Linked DNA regions of Homo sapiens: region 1 is linked to region 2. The links are contacts of gene promoters, found by promoter capture Hi-C in human tissues and cell types (Jung and others, 2019). All regions are on one chromosome and are shown on one strand. Each heading gives the region's core, a stretch centred on a gene start or on the middle of the fragment in contact. The rest is flanking DNA. Distances are from core to core; before and after follow the strand shown.

Evidence for each region. Contacts are between HindIII fragments. The study calls those that stand out against the background at their distance.
Region 1: a contact is called between a fragment that was not itself captured here and the fragment with the promoter of PEX5L in region 2, in 1 of the 25 tissues and cell types used here (lymphoblastoid cells).

What each region holds. Positions count from the first base shown.
Region 1 is chr3:179,880,406-179,885,454 of GRCh38, reverse strand. All of the region lies in intron 4 of PEX5L (peroxisomal biogenesis factor 5 like), which reads left to right. Among named protein-coding and RNA genes, the nearest start is that of PEX5L-AS2, 15 kb to the left of the region's middle. RefSeq lists an enhancer at 2,187-2,246. The HindIII fragment of the contact is 5,520 bases long and covers 1-4,689 here.
Region 2 is chr3:180,033,115-180,038,851 of GRCh38, reverse strand. PEX5L (peroxisomal biogenesis factor 5 like) reads left to right here and starts at 1,915. Exons shown (of 15, transcript NM_016559.3): 1 at 1,915-2,273. The coding sequence starts at 2,253. RefSeq lists a silencer at 1,800-1,849. The HindIII fragment of the contact is 6,291 bases long and covers 1-3,374 here.

The sequences.
Region 1 (5,049 bases), core at 680-3,179, 150 kb after region 2:
CAGGATGGTCTCAATCTCCTGACCTTGTGATCTGCCCACTTTGGCCTCCCAAGGTGCTGGAATTACAGGCGTGAACCACCGCGCCTGGCCCAAATTTCCCCTTTTTATAAGGACACCAGTCCTATTAAAGTAGGGGCCCACCCTATTCTAATATGACCTCATGTTTAATTATATCTCGAATGAAACTGTTTCCAAATAAGGTAATATTCTGAGTACTCAGTGTTAGGACTTCTACATAGACCACTCAATCCATAATACTCTCCAACGTAGGGGGTCTGGAAAAATAGTGTTCTGAGACTGGGGATTTATTTTTTCCCACCTCCATTATTCAGTGCACCTGGTTCACACAGATTTTTATCCTGAAGAAAGACTCTTATTTGATAAGTGTTTTTAATATTAAGCGTATATCTCAAGGCAAAAATATTATATATTTTTAATTCGTAAGAAATCTAGTTTTTATATAAATCAATACAAAATAAAAAAAATTTAGGAAATATTTACCTCTTCTGGAGGTCGGTCAGTGATTTTTTTTCTCTATGAACCCTAAAAGAACGTATCTTTTGCCTCATAGAAGTTCTAAATTATAATTTTTTTCCACCCAGTTCTATTAGATTATCTGAAGAACAAAAGTTTTTGAGACTGCCAACTATTTAAATCATTCCTTGGACTATCCAAACTGCCAAATAATTAGAAGCTAAACAAACAAATGAATCAAAGCCTTATCAATAAAGTCAGCACCCTGCCTTAAGGTTTAGATAAAGTCTAGAGAGGACTGTGCAAGAACACAGGCTATGGAGAGATGAGACCTGTATCCTGTATTTGAATCCTGGTGTAAACACTGACATACCAGTTATATTAGTTTTCTATTGTCACCGTAACAATTACCACAAATCTAATGGCTTAAAACAACACAAATTTATTATCCTAAAATCAAGATGTCAATAGAACTACATTACTTCTGGAGGCTCCAGGACAGAATTCACTTCCTTGCTTTTTCCAGCTTCTAGAGGGCACCTACAATTTGGTGGCTTATGACTCCTTGCTCCATCTTCAAAAGCAGCAGCTCTCTCTCTCACATTGGTCTCCATGTCCTTCTCTGGCTCTGACCCCCCTAACTGCACTTTATAAGAGCTCTTGTGATTACATTGGGCCCACAGGGATCATCCAGATTAATCTTTCAGTCTCCAAATCCTTAATTACATCTGCAAAGTCCCTTTTGCCATGTGACATGTCAAGGTAACATATTTACAGGTTCTGGGGATTAGAATGTGGCCATATTAGAGGGGGGCGTTTTTCTACCACACCAGCTGTGTGATTTTGGACAAGTTACTTAATATTGCCAAGCCTCAAGTTTCTCATATGTAAAATTAGAATACCTTTTTCACAGAAATGTTATGTAGACTAAGTAAGGAAACACTCATAAGCACTTACCATATTGTATATTTTCAATAAATAGTTTTTGTAATCATTTCCAACCTCATATATCTACAGTTTGTGTCAAGCATGAATGCTTTCAGTAGAATCTTCTAGTAGCGATAAATATTTATTTGCATCATGACTATGCTTATAGTGCTGTTCCAAGAGCTGTAGATAAGCACTTCATCCAATACTTTATAGTTTTATCCTTATTTTAGTGGGCAGAGTTAAGGTTCAGAGAGACATTTTTTTTTGAGACGGAGTTTTGCTCTTGTTGCCCAAGCTGGAGTGCAATGGCATGATCTTGGCTCACCGCAACCTCCGCCTCCCAGGGTCAAGCAATTTCTCCTGCCTCAGCCTCCAGAGTAGCTGAGATTACAGGCATGTGCCACCACGCCCGGCTAATTTTGTATTTTTAGTAGAGACGGGGTTTCTCCATTTTGGTCAGGCTGGCCTTGAACTCCCGACCTCAGGTGATCCGCCTGCCTCAGCCTCCCAAAGTGCTGGGATTACAGGCATGAGCCACTGCACTCAGTCAAACTCAGACAGTCTTAACCACTGTCCTGTGCTGCCTTATTTTATGCACAATATTCACGGAACATCAGGACACCAAAATAGATTAGCTGAACTAAAGTGAAGAAGACAGGACAAAGTGCTACAAGGGTGACTGGCAAAACATAGCCTGCTCAGAAGCAACTGAGCTGGAAATCCCCCTGCTACAGCAAATAGAAGTGAAGTCAGCGACATCCTCTGGGCAGTGGGATCCCACAGCCTATGAAGCTGTGAGTGGTGACTGACATGTGGTCCATGAGAAAAGTCTGCATATGTGACAATAAGATTACACCCTGAAGGTATTTTATTAGATCTACACTATCACACGCATACACACACATGTGCATACACACACGCACACACTTTTCACGTTCATTGTAAGAGGAGATTATCCTTTGTTCCTTTGTGCTCCTTTTTTTTAGAGACAGGGTCTTACTCTGTCACCCAGGCTGGCTCAAACTTCTGGGCTAAAGCAGTCCTCCCACCTAGTCTCCCGAGTAGCTGAGACTACAGGTGATAGCCATCACTCCTGGCTAATTTTTTTTAATTTTTTTAATTGTTTTGTAGTGACTGAATCTTGTTATATTGCCTAGGCTGGTCTCAAACTCCTGGCTTCGAGCGATCCTCCTGCCTTGGCCTCCCAAAGCACTGGGATTACAAACATGAGCCAACACACCTCACCGGTTGGTGCTCTTAATTTAAGCACACAGATACTGAAACCCAAAACTTCATGTGCCTGAAGGATCTTTAAAATAGGATTTAAGAAATCAGCAGAGCAGACACCACCTACCATACCAGGGCTGTCTTTGTGTGGAGCAATAAGATTCTTACTTTTAAATCTTAGCTAAAGGACACACACATGCTAAAATGTGATTTGTCTTTCTCCAGAGAGTGAAAGGCTACACCCACCCTTCTCTCCTTTTGAAAACGTACTCTGCAGGGACTTTCCCAGCTTCAAAGCTGGCCATTCGACCTCCAAGCCACCTCCTTCATCAGCTGGGTAACCAATTAGGCTTTCTGTGTGTGCCAAGCATTTGTTTCACATTTGCAAGAAAAAGAACAAAGGGACAAAGAGCTCAGAACAAATACAGGAATTGCCCAGGACACTTTGGAGGGGGAAAGAACCTTACTGAGCCAAGTTTGAATTCACAGTTCACCCTTTTAGTAATTCATTTATTCTGAATGTGAGAAGAAGATATAGAATTAAATTAGTACTTGCCAGCTGTTATTCCATAACAAATGTACTTCCTATGTTCAAGTAGACAATTTTATAATTTGCTTCTAAAAGTCTAGGAGCAAGTGACTAACTCTTAATTGTTTGTACAATTAGTAAAAAGATGTATATGGCATTCTATATTATGCCATCAATTTCCTTTCCTCCATTATAAGGACATCACATTGGGCCTAGACTCCTTGCCAACATAATAGTGGTCTGGAAATTTCTATTTGACCATTCAGTGGATATAAAATGTGAGGCATTCTAGCCTATTTTGGCTGTCTGCCATGCTTACATTTTAGACATAAAGCCAGGCAGCTTAGTTCTGAATGTCACTTCTTTCCCTCCACGTTCAAGTACTTCCTAGCCCCAAAACATCCCTCGTATCTCAGGGCATCTTAGCATTGGGAAGTGGTTCCTATTGCCTCAGGAAGATTCTGTTGAGATAAGCTGACACTTTCAGGCCACTTTATGATAAATTTACTTCATAGGATCCTCTGTAGAACCAATATCTTTGTCTCATCTTCAGTTTTATTCCCAGTAGCATTTTCTCTTTCTGTCAGTGTATGGATCTGATTCTTGTCTCAAATAAAAAGGAGCAGTGAAAATAGGAGAACATCAACAACAACAACAAAAAGGATAGAAAAAATCACAAATTGGCTGTAAAAGAATGGAAATCACATTTATTGAGTACCTATTGTATGCCTGGCACTTTACATACATTAGATCATTTAATCCTCATCTTATCCCTAAAAGACAATTAATTCCCCATTTTCAAATGAGGAAACTGAAACTCAGAGAGATCAAGAAACTTACTTCAAGTCACACACTAAGCCGTGACAGAGCCAGATGTTTCCACTTCACCAACAACATCCAACCACTGTGACTTGGAATTGGAATCAGAAAGCAAGATTATTAAGAGTAAAGTTTGACACACCATCCTAAAGATCCCATAGGAATGGTTAACTCATGAAGCCCATGCACTACTAAAGAAATCCAGGTTGTGAGTTCAATGGAGCCCGGCCCCTGCCTTGAGTACAAGGGAGAAGCAGACAGAAGAGTATTGAGACATCAGCAAAAATCCATCCCCCACCTAGAGGAAAAGCTTGGAGATTAAAGAGGAGTGCTGCAGTCATTGTTGTAGACTGCCACAAAGGGTTAATGCAAGTGGTTTCTTTGTCTTTCTGTGGCTTTCCTACGTGAGCTGGGTGAAGAGATTCCAGGCCAGGGAGCCACCGATCTTGCTCAGAAGCTAGTCTCTCCAGTGCAGTGCCAGGGCCAGTGAAACAGCAGGGACTGGTGGAAAGGTAGAGCTGTAGGGACCTTCTCCAATTTGAATTTTCTATCTCTCACAATGAGCTAGTCAAACACTGGTTACGTGCACTGTAAAAGAAGGAAGAAGCTAAGGTTATAAAACTTGCTTTTTTAATTCTCATTTGCCTTATTTGCATTTGAACAAGTTATTATTTCTGCTTTCATTAGAGTATTTAATGCAATGTAATCAACCTGCTAGGAAGTAAAAGTGTAACAGTTTTATAGTTAGTTACATTGAAATTCAAATTTGCATACTAAACAGCAAAGGCATTAACATGTGTACCTATTCATCAACTATGGATTATAAAATACCTCTCTTGGGTGAACCCAAACAGGATGCCATTTTCTGATTGAACTGCTTAATTAAATAAAAGATGATTAACAGCATTGCTTTATACCCCATATACTTTATTGTTTAAAATTAAAACACAAAGACATTCAAAACCTTCACTAAATCTCTGAATATGGTAGATTGACTCCTCTCTGGGAAATTGCAATCTAAAATAACCTTCAGTATAAATAAAGCAAAGCAATAAAGTAAATAGCACCTG
Region 2 (5,737 bases), core at 666-3,165:
AGTCCTCATCTTTTCTGAACTGGGAAAAAAAAGTCTGTTTGCATATTCATATATCATGGTTGGTAATTTACAACTTCCTTTGCATACATTCAGTCCTCAGCAGCTCTGTGCAGCACACTAGGTAGATATTTGTCTTATTTCAAAATTGAGGAAATAGAGAGTTGGTACACTTGCCCAAGAGAGCATTGAGGTAGTGAGATGGAACTAGCACCTCTTGTTGCTGACTCCAAGTCCTGTGCTTTGTCCTATAAAGAACAATAAAATAAGAACTGGATGACATTTTACAGTTTACAGTGCTTATGAACATATCTCTATTTTCAGGGTAAAAAAAATAAGTTTTTTATACAGAGTTTAGACATGAAAAAACTGATGTCCAAAGTAGTAAAAGGAAATTGTCCAAGGGTAACTACTAGTGGAATCTAATAGGAATCCATGTCTCCTGCTTACAGGTCTTAGTCCTTTTGTGTTTGTTTGGTTGGTTGTTTTAGGACCTCAGATGCATTGAATTGGTTCATTTCACATCCTTTTGTTCATTTCACATTCTCCTCATTAGTCCATACATGGTTCTATTTTATTTAGTTACACAGTAATTTTTAATAGGATATTAGGTGTCCTATGAATCACTACCCGGCATAGAAGATAAGACATTAACATCTAAACTTCAAGTGAAATGCTTCCCCATCTATTTCCCTGCCTCCCTTCACCCAGGGTCACCAACACTCTGAACACTATATTCATTGTTCCACTGCTTTCCTTTTTATATTGTTGTATATGAATATATGAATACACATTGACATTTCTAGGGATTTTTTAAACTTTATAAAAAGCATATTATGCTATATGCAATATTTTGGGGATATCATGCTGTACATAATATGAGGGGCCTGTAGAATTGGAGATGTTTTTACCAACAAAATTAGGTAATCACAGTATACACCACCCCGTGGTGTGTGTGTATATATGAACATTTATTGTGTAGACACATCAAACTACCCAGTCTCAACTTGAGACATATTTAAATGCACTCTTCATATATGTGTGTATGTGTGTGTAAGTGTATAGTAGTAAAGGTCTATTCATTCAGCAAATATTTATTGTGTGCCTGCCATGTGTCAGGAAGTACTAAATACCTTACTGTGCACACACGTGCAAAACCAAGTGCAACACTCCACCCCCCTAAAAAAAAGTCCCTGATCTCATGGAAATAACATTGTACAGAGGGAGAGACAGACAGTACATAAAATAAATATGGAAAATATAAAGGATGTTAGGTGATGTTACGTGCTAGGGAAAAAAATAAAACATGCCAGATCCTCAGGGACTAGGGTTTGCCGTTTTAAATAGAATGCTCGGCGATGAACTGGGGATGAGGGGAGCGGGGAGTCTTTATTTAACGGGTGATACGGACGTAACTTTCGAGAGCTGAATCAGAACCGAAGTAAACTCTTCGGCAACCCCTGCACTCAGCCTATAATGTCTGTAGGATAACAGGCTCAGCCGCGGTGGATGGCCCCCGGAGAGACGATGCATGTCTTCCCGCCTTTCTTCCGGCCGGCCATCCTCTCCGCTAGAATCGCCCTGCCCGCCGACGCCGCACCTGAACGCCGCGCTGCTGCGGGCGTTGTACACCAGCGCGACCACCGCCTGCCGGCACCTCGCCTTGCCGCCGCGCGCGCGCAGCCCCGAGGACGCGCTCGGGGAGCGCGCACCGCCCGGGGCCGCCCTCGGGCCGCTCCCAGGCCCCTGGGAACGCGCGCGCGTGCCCGGTCCCGCGGCCTCTCGGCAGGCACGCGGCTGGGAGAACGGCGCGCGCCCCGCTCGGCAGCTGCGGCGGCGGCTGGTGTAGGCGCTCACGTCAGGGCTGGGAGGAGGGGGTTCGCAGCTCAGAGAGAGAGAGACATGAGGCAACCTGGCAGGAAGCGAGAAAGAGTTCGGCGAAGAAGGAGTGAGTTCTAGAGACGCCCCGCGAGCAGGACCCGCGCCTGCAGGAGAGCCTGGCCGACCCGGCTCCTCGCCTTCTCTGCGCGCTCTCCCGCGTCCGCTTTCAGCACCCCGAGCGGAGAACAGTTCCCGGCAGCCCGCAGCGCTGCCGAGTGGCCGCCGGCCGGCCGAGTACCCGGAGCTCCAGGGGGCTCAGGAGCACCCTCTGAGAACCCGCTGTGCACCCACCTTTTCCCCTCTTTTGGTGGGCAAGTAAGCACGGGGGAAAAGCATCCGGTGGCCTCAGGGAGCCCTGAAGAAACCGAAGCAGAATGTACCAGGGACACATGCAGGTAAGACATTTCTATAGGGCTGGAGAGAATTCTTGGGGGCTAATTTAAGAGCAAGGCGGTTCACCAAGTTTCTGTGGTCAAGTGCTGCCTTCGCACAGCTCAACAAGTGAAGTGATGCAACATGACCGTGACATTTCTGTCCGGTGCTGCCGGGAAAACTAGACCGGTTTCCGAAGGTGGGAGAAGGGGAGGGAAGACCTCAGAACTTCGATTGGGGAAGTTTGTTTTCTGTGCATTCCCTGAGCCTGTTTCTTTAAACAGGATCAAGGAATCGAAACAGAGGAAACCCTAGAGATGACCGTGTTTCCGTTGTAATCCTATTGATGCATCTCAGCATGTATGTCAACTGAAGGGCAAACAATAATAGGAAAGACAAAGCTTTTCCTTTACCATCTGAAAAGGTTGCTTGACTTAGAACACTCTGTCACTTTCGTTTCATTTTTTAAAGTGTTATATTTAAAAAACGATTTATAGTGTATTTTCCCCCTTCACATTATGGGACATTGCCATCTACTCCAATAGTCACAGGATGACTTGGGAGGATGAATTTCAAACACATGTCCAAGGAGCTCTAATGTTTTTCAGGGGAGGTGCTGCCTCCGGTTGTTATTAATATTCATCTGAGCTGAGCCGCTGCTTCTTTCCGATGCAAACACACTCTACTCTCTTGGGCAAGATTACTTTAACCTTGACTCCAGTTCTCATTCATACGGTTGGTTGGTTCTTATAAAGGCAGATATATGCTTTGGGAGAAAAATAAAATACTAACTCAGCTTTCTAAAGTATGAACTGGACTCTTTATCGCACCTAAATGGTTTAGTCATCAGGTTTGATGTTTGGGCTTCCTTTCCATTCCAAAGATGGTCAAATACAATCATTATGTGTGATGCCTTTATCCTGGTGTATAACATTTATGAATACTGAGGATTTTGCTTCTGTGTCTTTTAGAGCAATTGGAAATAGATAAATATGTTGTTATATTTATGACTTAGTACTACCCAGATTTAATTTCCATAACTTAGGGAAATTCTTTTGGACTATAATCCATTTTTAAATAAAACACAATATTTCATCATAGTCTCAATTTTTATAAGAATTCTCAATATACAGTGCCAGAATTCCAAAAGATTTCCCGTATGACTAACATCATCCTGTTTTGAAAATTATTAATGTGATTATATCACATTTGATAGACAAAAAGTAGTGAATGAAGTATATTTTTAAATATTATATATGATCAATGTGATCTGCATGTTTCTTATAAAAGCTACACCAATTGAAAAGTTAAGTAACATAGAAGAATTCAAATAATGACTGCTGAAAAAATTAACAAAGAATTATTACTATAGTTTTATGCTTCATCTTCACCCAAGAATGATACTTACAATTTTATATATTATCTGTTTTTTAAACAGTTTCTTCACAAGGGTAAAACAGGAAGATTTTAATAGAGTCAACCCTCAAAAAATTGTTCATTTACACAAAATTGACAATTGACCACTAAGGGGAAATTAACAAAAACTTTGCACAGTATTGTTTTGTTGCTTAAAAAATATGTTACTGTGAATGAAGAATCGAAGCAACAATATGGTAAATTCATGCACCCAAAAACAATTTTAACTCAATTTTCTCAATATCTCAAAGGAGAATGTTATTGAAACTTGAGTTGCCTGGAACAATGTCTGAGGGTTTAATTTCACTTTGAAAGAATAAACAAAATATAAGACTCTGCATATTCTCCCAACTTAATGTCTTTTGCTTGTGCACTGCTGTAACAGCAAATATGATGACTTGCAGTAAAACTCACAAATCTTTGCTGCCAAGCTTAAATTAAAACATTACTAAATAAAGACTGTAATCAATACATCCACCAAAATTTCAGAGCATAATACTTTTTTCCTACTTACTATTAACCATTAATGTTAAGCATAAAACTTCCGAGGCCTTAGTAGGTACGTTTAGTAGTTATTCAATAGTATGATGATCTGAATGGGCATCTGCTCCCCCCAACAAAAAAATACCTATGACAGATTGATTCATAATATACTTGTTGGCTTACATTTTAAACTCATATCTCTTCCCCCAAAGAATATTATTTAGCCTATGGACAAAATAACGTTTCCTTATCAGAGATACTATCATCTTCCTGTGTGTACCTGACTCTAATCACAGATAAGAAGAAACACATTCCAAACACTCCAAAATGTGTATGATTAAAATCTGAATCCATATTTGGTAAAGTGGACCAGGGATAAGCAGATTTACTAACATTTCTGCCAGCTTTGGAGTTAATTTGAAACATAATGTTACTTGACTGATACCTTAAAACAAGAGTGAAACAGAAATGTTTGCAATCTTTTGCTATGCATTCTAATTCTTCTCTTTTCTGTATCCAAGAGACTTTAAAATAAAGTGCTTTGTAAATTAGCAGTTTGAAGTAGGGGCAGGTGTTCTCAGGAAGACTTAAAAATAGTCTAATTTAAAACTCCTGTGGTGCCTTTGTTTTTGCAACTTAATGATTTTGCAGATAAAGTCTATTAATTCTCATACATATGGCTAATTCATCTGGTTTATGGTAGAATCTGAATTCATTTTAGAAACCGCAGACTTTTAAAAACACACATTTGGTTTGCTCTGCTAGTTCATTAGAAAATAAAAGTTGGCATCTATTACAGATAGAGCATAGAGTAACAGATATTTCTTGGTTTCATAGTAAAAGCCGCAGGTATATTTCTTAGGAGCAGGGTCCTGGAGCTATGTTTTTATCCAGCTGCCTTACCAATTATTTCCAAGGGGAGTTAGTCACCCCAGTAAATGAAGCAAAGGTTGCTTCTTTTGTGACTGTTTTAGATTTACTTATTTTTTTCTTTTGACCAAGGGCACTGATGATGATTGAATATACTTTAGCATCGGTTCTGACAAAACTCTGTTGCTCATTGAGGGCCTATGGTCTTAATTCCACCAATACCTCTGTATGTTCAGGGCTGAGGTGATTATTTGCCTATGTGCATTTGAGTTAACATTTCCAGTTAGAGGAAATTATTACATGTCTCTCAATGTTTTCTTAACCTAGCTGTTTTATTTCTGGGGTGGTATAAATACAGAGAAATATAATTTCAATTTTCTACTAAGATTTTTTGAATTGTTATTGAAGAATCCACAGCAATGGGTTTTTTAATAAAAGAAAGTTATTTCAGAAGGCAATCAAACAAAAAATCTATTTGTAATTGTAACTGATCTTTATTTTAGGCATTCAAAGCAGACTTTTTGACTTATTCAAGCTGTCTGGGGAATCATTCCACACCCTCTAGCTTCACAAGACATAAACTAAGGAAAATTTAAATGACAAAAATTGTAAGATTATTAACAGCCCAAAAAGTAGCCATTTGTTTTCCCCCAGGGGAGTTTTGCATTTGTTTTTCTATATGACTTTACTTAAGATTTTTCTTAAAATCTCTACAAAG